Regions from separate parts of the Homo sapiens genome. Here regions 1 and 2 are each linked to region 3. The links are contacts of gene promoters, found by promoter capture Hi-C in blood cells and fetal thymus (Javierre and others, 2016). All regions are on one chromosome and are shown on one strand. The core of a region is centred on a gene start or on the middle of the fragment in contact, and the rest is flanking DNA. Distances in the headings are between cores, read along the strand shown.

What was found. Contacts are between HindIII fragments. The CHiCAGO score rates a contact against its expected background, and 5 or more counts as called.
Region 1: a contact is called between a fragment that was not itself captured here and the fragment with the promoter of RTN4RL2 in region 3, in 3 of 17 cell types (activated CD4 T cells, M0 macrophages and neutrophils). The highest score is 7.6, in activated CD4 T cells.
Region 2: a fragment that was not itself captured here is called in contact with the fragment with the promoter of RTN4RL2 in region 3 in 1 of 17 cell types (neutrophils); the score reaches 5.4 in neutrophils.

The regions. Positions count from the first base shown.
Region 1 is chr11:57,781,699-57,785,005 of GRCh38, forward strand. All of the region lies in intron 1 of CTNND1 (catenin delta 1), which reads left to right. The region is part of intron 2 of TMX2-CTNND1 (TMX2-CTNND1 readthrough (NMD candidate)); the gene reads left to right. Among named protein-coding and RNA genes, the nearest start is that of CTNND1, 22 kb to the left of the region's middle. RefSeq lists an enhancer at 2,558-3,058. The HindIII fragment of the contact is 3,687 bases long and covers 1-3,296 here.
Region 2 is chr11:57,809,832-57,813,102 of GRCh38, forward strand. It overlaps CTNND1 (catenin delta 1), which reads left to right. Exons shown (of 21, transcript NM_001085458.2): 16 at 278-392; 17 at 1,568-1,655. TMX2-CTNND1 (TMX2-CTNND1 readthrough (NMD candidate)) reads left to right here. Exons shown (of 21, transcript NR_037646.1): 17 at 278-392; 18 at 1,568-1,655. Among named protein-coding and RNA genes, the nearest start is that of CTNND1, 50 kb to the left of the region's middle. The HindIII fragment of the contact is 2,866 bases long and covers 223-3,088 here.
Region 3 is chr11:57,459,126-57,462,020 of GRCh38, forward strand. It overlaps RTN4RL2 (reticulon 4 receptor like 2), which reads left to right and starts at 1,403. Exons shown (of 3, transcript NM_178570.3): 1 at 1,403-1,771. The coding sequence starts at 1,741. RefSeq lists silencers at 251-310, 1,410-1,679. The HindIII fragment of the contact is 14,932 bases long and covers 1-2,895 here.

The DNA of each region.
Region 1 (3,307 bases), core at 203-2,702, 320 kb after region 3:
CCAGTGGAGGGCCTTGGAGAGGCACATGGATAATGGGGGAGGAGAAGGAGGCGGCCTGGCCTGAGAGATCAGGACTTGTTAGACCAGTCCTGTGTGTGCGTCATGCATGCTCCACAGAGAAGCAGGTTTTTTTCTTTCTGTACCCTTTCAGTCCTGGGCCCCCTCACTAGCTGAGAGCCACACCCTTCCTTGGCTTCAAAGCCAGCCCAGCACTAAGCCATTTTAGTATGTTATGGTTTAGAGGGGGTTCTCAGAATACTTGGGAGGGGAAAAGAGAGAAAAAGAAGAATGTTTTATTTGGTCTCAGAATTTAGGAGGTCATGATGGTGGAGGTGATTTTTTTTTTTTTAAGTTGCAGTAAAAACTTTAAATATTGACAGGTAGCTTTGGGTAAGGATTATAAGACTAAAGGGAGTTTAAGGTACCCTGTTGATGTATAGAGGTTGCCAGCTCAAATTCCTTTTAACAAGGAGTATTATCTTGTTTATATCTTTGTTTTTTAAAAAATTCTTTTCTCTGACGTTCCAATCAGAGAGAATGTATCACTCTTTCCTAAGAGGAGGGTGGTCTGCCCAGAGCCTTCCTTAATTCATCAGAGAGATTCCTGGTGGACACCTAGTTTTTCCTCATGAAAATAAGACTTCTTTGGTCAGCCTTTTACCCTCTTTTAAAATAAAATCCTTAACTAAATTAAATTTAACAGTGTTTAATTGAACAAAGAACAGTTCACTAATTGGGGAGCCTTCTGAGCCACAGTAGGCTCAGAGACTCCAGTGCAGACGTGGTAGAAGATTTATGGACAGAAAAAGGAAAGTGATGAACAAAAAATGGAAGTGAGGTACAGAAACAGCTGGATTGGTTATGGCTCAGCTGGAACAGTTGGCCCCCTTTGAGTGGCCAAAACTCAGTGATTGGCACAAGAGTAGGTTACAGTCTATTTCTACCACCATTTAGGTTATAGTTCATTATGTACAGATAAATCTTTAGGCCAAACTTAAAAGATGTAAGGAGGCATAAACTTGCCTAGGCTAAACTTGATTTAACACTTCTAAATGGAGAAGTTGGGCCTAGCAGGAAGCAGATCCATGAGGAAGCATAGAAAGAGTGAACACTAGGAGAAGGCCATATCCAGAATAATACAGGTTTTGTGACTTGAGTAGTGCTCAGTTGAGATTGTGAAGTGAGCACAGTCCTTTTAATCTTAACGCAAATCAGCTTCAGGGACTTGGAATTAACAGAAGATGAGTCTTCCCAGTGAAGTGAGAAATACTAGAACTGTTCTGACTGAGCATGAAGGTGGAACATGGTTGGGCATGGTGGCTCACGCCTGTAATCCCAGCACTTTGGGAGGCCAAGGCTGGTGGGTCACTTGAGGTCGGGAGTTCAAGACCAGCCTGGCCAACGTGGTGAAACCGTGTCTCTACTAAAAATACAAAAATTAGCCAGGCATAGTGGCACATGCCTATAGTCCCAGCTACTTGGGAGGCTGAAGCAGGAGAATTGCTTGAACCTGGGAGGTGGAGGTTGCAGTGAGCCGAGATGACGGCATTGCATCTGGGCGACAGAGCAAGACTCCATCTCAAAAACAAACAAACAAACAAAAAAAAACGTGGAACATCAAGTGGAGGTAGGGCGGGGTACTTAGACTTTGGACTCTGGTATAAGCACTGATAAGAAGCCATAGAAAGGCCGGGCTCACGCCTGTAATCCCAGCACTTTGGAAGGCCGCGGCGGGTGGATCACGAGGTCAGGAGATCGAGACCATCCTGGCTAACACGGTGAAACCCCGTCTCTACTAAAAATACAAAAAATTAGCCGGGCGTGTTGGCGGGCGCCTGTGGTCCCAGCTACTGGGGAGGCTGAGGCAGGAGAATGCTGTGAACCCGGGAGGCGGAGCTTGCAGTGAGCCGAGATCGCGCCACTGCACTCCATCCTGGGTGACAGAGCGAGACTCCATCTCAAAATAAAAAAAAAGCCATAGAAAATCTTGACAAAATATATTTCTTTGATTTAGAAACAAAATGGCAAGTTTGTTTGTGGTTGAACCGGAATATTTCTTCAAATTTGGGGTCAGGTGCCAGTTAAGGCAAATAAATGCCTTTTAGGTATCTGAAGGGCCCCTTTCTGGCTTGAATGTTATGTAATACAGTTCTGTAGTGTTACAGGTGCTATATTTTGTTGATTAGTATTCTGCAGTAGGAGGCTTGGTATGCTATTTATTTATTTATTTACGTATTTATTTTTGAGACAGGGTCTTACTCTGTCGCCCAGGTGGCAATGTAGTGATTGTGGCTCACTGTGGTCTGGACCTCCTAGACTCAAGCAATTCTCCCACCTCAGCCTCCTGAGTAGCTGGGACTACAGTGTGCACCACCATGCCCAGTTAATTTTTGTAATTTTTTTGTAGAGGTGGGGTTTTGCCATGTTGCCCAGGCTGATCTTTAAACTCCTGGGCTCAAGTGATCTGCCCACCTTGGCCTCCCAAAGTGCTGGGATTACAGGTGTGAGCCACTTTGCCCAGCCCAGTGTGCTTTTGAAAAAAGCCCTTTGCATTCCCTAGAATGGCTGGGCACAGTGGCTCATGCCAGTAATCCCTGCACTTTGGGAGGCCAAGGCAAGAGGATTGCTTGAGCCCACGAGGTCCATGCTGTAGTGAGCTGTGATCACACCACTGCACTCTAGCCAGGGCGACAAGAGCTAGATCCTGTCTCAAAAAAAAAAAAAAAAAATTCCCTAGAACGACATGGAAATGGAGTTTTGCCTGTCATTGTTTTTAGATGGAGAGCATAAATTTGTGACACTCGTTTTGTTGTTGTTGTTTTTGAGACAGAGTCTTACTCTGTCATCCAGGCTGGAGTGCAGTGGCACAATCTCGGCACACTGAAACTTTTGTCTCTTGAGTTCAAGTGATTCTCCTGCCTCAGCCTCCTGAATAGCTGGGATTACAGGTGTGTGCCAACATGCCCGGCTAATTTTTTTGTATTTTAAGTAGAGATGGGGTTTCACCATGTTGACCAGGCTGGTTTCGAACTCCTGAACTCAAGTGATCCTCCCATCTCAGCCTCCTAAAGTGCTGTGATTACAGGCATGAGCCGTGGTGCCCGGCCATGACATTGGTTTTGATTTTATAATGAATAAATAGGAAGAAAGGAGGAGAGCTGCCTTTGAGACTGGCTCTGAAGACAAAATTATTTTTGCAAAAACCCAAAGATTGGTGAACTTCAGAGTTCACATAGGCTATGGTTTTATATATATTAGCTCATTAAAACTAAACCATGAAGAGTAATAGAAATGGAAGCTTACAGGG
Region 2 (3,271 bases), core at 406-2,905, 350 kb after region 3:
CCTGAGTAGCTGGGACTACAGGTGCGTGCCACCATGCCCAGCTAATTTTTTGTACTTTTAGTGGAGATGGGGTTTCACCGTGTTAGCCAAGATGGTCTCCATCTCCTGACCTCAGGTGATCCACCTGCCTCAGCCTCCCAAAGTGCTGGGATTACAGGCAGGAGCCACTGTGCCCTGCCCCTGGCATTTATATTCTTATGTTATTAGAGGATATAGGGTCTAAGCTTTTTTCCTGATTTTATATCCAAATTCCGTATGGTGTTACTTTCCTCCAAAGGAACCGCTCAGAAAAAGAAGTTCGAGCAGCAGCACTTGTATTACAGACAATCTGGGGATATAAGGAACTGCGGAAGCCACTGGAAAAAGAAGGATGGAAGAAATCAGACTTTCAGGTATAGTAACTTTTGAGACCAAGACTTTTACTTTTTTTTTCTTGGTCCCAGGATAATGCTTCTGTTTTCTTTCGTTTCTTCCATTTCACCATCATGCTAAACCTATTTTTTTTTTCTTTTTCGGAGACAGAGTCTCACTCTGTTGCCCAGGCTAGAGTGAAGTGGCGCAATCTCGGCTCACTGCAACCTCTGCCTCCCGGGTTCAAGTGATTCTTGTGCCTCAGCCTCCCCAGTAGCTGGGACTACAGGCACATGCCACCATGCCCAGCTAATTTTTTATATTTTTAGCAGAGATGAGGTTTCACCATGTTGGCCAGGTTAATCTTGAACTCTGAGCTTAGGCAACCTGCCTCGGCCTCCCAAAGTGCTAGGATTACAGGCATGAGCCATCACACCTGGCCTCATGTTAAATCTATTTTTGACCCATATTTCTTAATTAGGAATTATTTGGCCAGGTGTGGTGGCTCACACCTGTAATTCCAACACTTTGGGAGGCTGAGGCAGGTGGATTGCCTGAGCCTAGGAGTGTGAGACCAGCCTGGGAAACATGGCGAAACCCATCTCTACCAAAAATAAAAATAAAAGTAGCCAGGCGTGGTGTTGTTTGCCAGTAGTCCGAGCAACTCAGGAGGCTGAGGTGGGAGGATTGCTTGAGCCCAGGAGGTAGAGGTTGCAGTGAGCCGACATCACACTGCTGCACTCCAGCCTGGGCAACATAGCTAAACCCTGTCTCAAAAAAAAAAGAAAAAAAAAAAGATTTGGTTTACTCCTCAAAAGGATGATGTGTCTACAATTCATTTGTTGCCGACACAGCTCAGGTATCCCTCTATGTCATAACATACTTTAGGTGCAGGTGATGATGAAGGATGATGGCCTTTTTGACTTTTGCCCAAATCTACCGTAGCCCTTTGAGGGAATTTTTACTATTCTCTGAAACTGTATTTTCTTCTGATAGTGTCAATATTTGGATCCTTTGTAATCTCCTGTTCTGGAACACAAATAGAAGCCATAATATCCTAGTTTGTCTCACTGTCTAGGGTATTTATTCAACTCTTATAAGTTGCTTTTTCATGATTCTATTTGGGAATAGGAACCTAGAGGTTTATGCCCATTAGAGCATAAGATAGGGTGAATTCAGTATTCTGTCACATTGTCGCATTTGTGTTTGCCTCTAGGTGAATCTAAACAATGCTTCCCGAAGCCAGAGCAGTCATTCATATGATGATAGTACTCTCCCTCTCATTGACCGGAACCAAAAATCAGGTGCAGTATCCAGAAGGCACACCCTCTCCTTTTAGCCACTCTTGCTGTTCTAGGTGGCTTACTAAGAAATAGGATATATATTATTTCTGAATTAGCTAGCCTTTTGTGGGAGGGGAATAATTTTCCACTCCAGGATCCTAACGCAGAAATGGGTAGGTCTTAAGCATTAGAAATCAAAACAAAACAGGTAATTAGCCTGAATGTGATTCCTTTATCATTGCTTGTGAACTTAAAACACTGGAAAGTGAACTCTAGTCTGTTTTGTCTATTTTTTCTCCTTTTAAATTTCCATTTAATACTTAATATTGTAATAGTTACTATTTTAAAATTACAAAATATAAACAATCAGAAAAATAACAAAAAATCACTTGTTTCTTTTATCCAGAGAAAACCACTTGTATCTTTTAAAACATTTTTATCATGTGAGTAAACACATTTTTCCTCTGAGATGAATTATATATTTTGTTTTGTAAATTTTTTCTTTTTCACATAAAGTGTATATTGTGACCATTATTATCTTAATCACACTTGGCTTTTTCCTTGATTATTGGTTCTTAAAGTGTGGTCTGAGAGTCCCAAGATTGTTACAATTTGTACTGATGGCACAGAAAGCAGTGATGCTTCTTGCTGGTGGCTTAGCACAAACCAGGGCAGTGACATAAAGCTGAATGAGTCATTGTAGTCTTCATTGCCACTCACATAGGTAAAAGCAGAGAGCCATTTTCACTTAACTGGAGAAGAAAAAACATCAGGCCAGGTGTGGTAGCTCATGCCTGTAATCCTAGCACTTTGGGAGGCTGAGGCGGGCAGATCACCTGAGGTCAGGAGTTCAAGATCAGCCTGGCCAACATGGTGAAACCCCGTCTCTACTAAAAATACAAAAATTAGCTGGGTGTGGTGGCAGACGCCTGTATTCCCAGCTACTCAGGAGGCTGAGGCAGGAGAATCGCTTGAACCCAGGAGGCGGAGGTTGCAGTGAGCCGAGATTGCACCACTGCATTCCAGCCAGGGCGACAGAGTTGAGACTCCGTATCAAAAGAAAAAAAAAATCACTTTTATTGTTTTTCTACCCTTGAGTATACATCTTTTTAATATTCTGTGCTGATGAAATAGCATATTAAAGCATGATGGTTGTCTTAAGGAAATGTACTTGTGTTATTGTTTCAGTTACTAGTTAGACTAGCCACTTTTTAATTGTTTATTTATTTATTTTGAGATGGGGTCTCCCTATGTTACCCAGGCTGGTCTTGAACTCCTGGGGTCAAGCGATCCTCCTGCCTTGGCCAAGTGTTAGGATTACATCCGGCGCTCAGCCACACTAGCCACTTTGTTTAATGGAACACTGTTTTTACTTGGAAAAAAATGTGTGGTAGACAAAGGGATTATTCAGATGTGCGCATTTGGCAGACATTTTCTCAAAAACGAATGCGATAAGCTTGTTGCTTTGAGGAAAATAACACAGTGTTTGCTGCCTGAGCTTTCAAGTGGAAATTGTAGTTTTGAAAAACTTTTATTTGCCACTGTGAGCCTGGTAACTTCCCAATACTGAAAAGACTTTTCTAGGCTGAGTGTAGTGTCTCATGCTTATAATCTCAGTACTTTGGGAGACTGAGGCA
Region 3 (2,895 bases), core at 153-2,652:
AGTAAGAGTCGGGGGAGAAAACCAGAGAAATCGAATGAGAACGCGAGAAGAACGAGAGACCGTGGAGGGAGCAGAGAATGAATGGGAAGAATAAGACCAACATTTATCAAGAGCCGACTGTATGCCAGGCACTGCATTGGACCCTGGCACGGATAGGAAAGGAGGAGCCGCGGCGCGGGCAGCGGGGCGAGGGGCTTCTGTGCTCGCGGGAGCGGCAGCCCAGGGGGCTCAGCAGCCCCGGCACCGCCGCACCTGAGGCTCCAGCAGCCCCAACCCCGCCAGCGCTGCCTGGCCACCGTACCCGAAGCGGCTCCCCCGAGGGCCCCGAGCCTATCCTACGCCGGGGCGGCTCCGCGGACGCGCCGGGCCGAGTCAAGACCTGGGTCAACCGCCCTGCAGCCTTTGTAGGGAAGTGCCTAGGTGATGGGTCTGCTGATACCGCCTGTGACCAGGCCATGAAGGGCCAGAGGGGCTCCAGTGAGACCATAATCCGCCCCTCTTTAAAAGGGGGTAGAGGAAGTTCACGCGAAGCCAACAGTCTTCTCCCCAGCTTTGGGTCCTCTCCTGCACCCCCGCGGGAGATAAGGTCTCCCCTCCCGGACACATCATACATACACAAAAAAACGCACACACTCGCACGCGCGCCCATCTCGCACCCGCTTGTAAATGCACTAAGGGGCATACACACACCGGGCACATATTTCTTTCCACCCATCCCCAAGATCGCAAGCGCAAAACCTCGCACAGCCTCACGTTTCCCACCAGCTCAGACATGCACGCTGGCGGACTTTCAGCGGCTCACCCGTGTGCACACTCACGTGCCCCCCCCCCCGCTTCCCCAAGCCCGTACAAAGGGTAACGGGCAAGCATCCTGAGTCACACCTGCACAAGCATCCTTGCGCGCACGTGCACGCTCATATGCACTCGATCTTGCACGCACAAACTCTTGCATATACTATTCTTATAGTCGCACACTGGGCTTGAGGTCTGGGAGTGGAAGGAAAAGTGGAATCTTGGAGCTGTCCCAGGGGACAGAAATGCTGGAGGCTGGGACACTGGCGCGAGGGACGCGGCTGGGGGCGGGGGAGGGGGTGACCCAGAAGCTCATCTTCTCCTGGAAAGTTGGGAGGGGGGAACAGGACAAGTCCACGGCGTTCCTCTAAACTACCGCATTCCCCCAAGAAGGGATTTCTCTAGAAGAGTGGCGCCGCGAGGACGATCGAACACAGTCCTCCGGGTCGCTTAAGCGGGGGGGAGGGGGGCGGGGTGGAGGGGGTTAGAAAGCCGCTCCCGCCTCCTAGTGGTCGAGAAAGGGTTAAGTCGGCAAGCCAGCAAACGAGGGAGGAGCCAGCGAGTGCGGGAAGGAGTGGGGGTGGTTGGGAAGAGCTTCCTCGCTGTCCCCACTCTCCCTCGGCTAGCAGCCTGGGCACACGGACAGACGGACTGACGGACTCTCGAGCGGACAGCGCAGCTAGCGGGGCGCGGGCGCTGGGCGTCGACGGCCAGCCCCAGCCTTCCCCGCCCCGTCGCGCCCCGCCCCGTCCCGTCGGGGCCGATGGCTCCTCCCGAGGCCCGCAGCCCGGGCGGCGCAGGGTAGAGCGCCGCGGCCCGGCCACGCAGCCCGGGGACTCCCGGGCCCTCCCGGAGCCCCGCGGGGTCCCCGCCGTGCATCCGGCGGGCTCAGGGAGCGAGTGGGAGCGCCCTCCCCCCGCTGCCCCCTCCCCCGAGCATCGAGACAAGATGCTGCCCGGGCTCAGGCGCCTGCTGCAAGGTAAGAACGCCAGCGGCGGGAGAGCGGAGGGCATCCTGGGGAGAGAAGCAGGGCGTCCCCTCTTTCAGGGATTGAGGGTGGGGCAGTTGGGGAGGTGGGGTAACCTGGGGAAGGGGAAAAGCTCAGCGCTGGGGCCGCGCCCCCGCCGCCAGGGCTGTTCTCAGCAGGAGGGCACTTGGCTGGGAGCCCGCGGGCGCGTGCGAGGAGCTCGTGACCGAGGTGGGACGCAGGGGGCAGGTGGACCCGGCCCGGAGCGGGGAGGGAGGCTCAGGTTCCGCTGTCCCCGCTCCACCTGCTCCGGGGGACGCTGAGGACTCGGGCCGGCTGGGGAAGCGCCGACTCAGCAACTCCTCCTGCCCGGTGCCTCAGCACTTTCTGGCCACCTGGGAAGACAGGAGATGTGGGTAGGGGGCTGTCTGGGGAGGTAGGAGGCGCAGAGGGAAATCCAAGTGGCCCTCTCTGGTAGGAGAGATGGAGGGCGCTAGAAAGAGGATAGTTCTACTGATTGAGTGACAGATAAGGGTGTGGGCCAGAGACTGGGGGTGGGGTGGGGAGGGGTCAGGGGGAGAGGGATAGGAAGGAGAACTCAAAGATGGAGAAAGTGGTGAGGGAAGCTCAAAGGAGGAGGGAGATGGAGCGGGGGAGGGGGAGAAGGAATAAAGGTTAGATGGGAAAAGCGTGGAGGGAAGTGGGACCCAGGTGAAGACCAAGGAAGAGGGAAGGAGAGGAAAGACCAGATCAGGGGAGGGATGGGAAGAAGACTATGGACAGGGACCCAGAATCCTGGGATGGAGGTAGCGGGAAAGAGAATCAGGACTGGGACCCTGGGGACTGGAATGGAAAAGGAGAATGGAAAGATCAGAAACCAGAGAAGGATGGGGATGGTGACTAGAGAAGGGGTATCAGGAACCGGCGAAGAGGGTTGGAGACAGGGAACCATGGATGGGAGAGGGGCTGGAGAGGAGGGAAGAGGAGGAGGAAGAGAAAGGCTGAGAGAGAGGGACTGGGGATTGGGGGTGCTGCCCAGGGATGAGACAAAGAGGCTTCTGGTAACCACTTCCACGTGGGAAGCCCTCCATTCCCAAAGCGCCTGCCTGCCACATTTCTTCTCTCAGGGAGTGGCT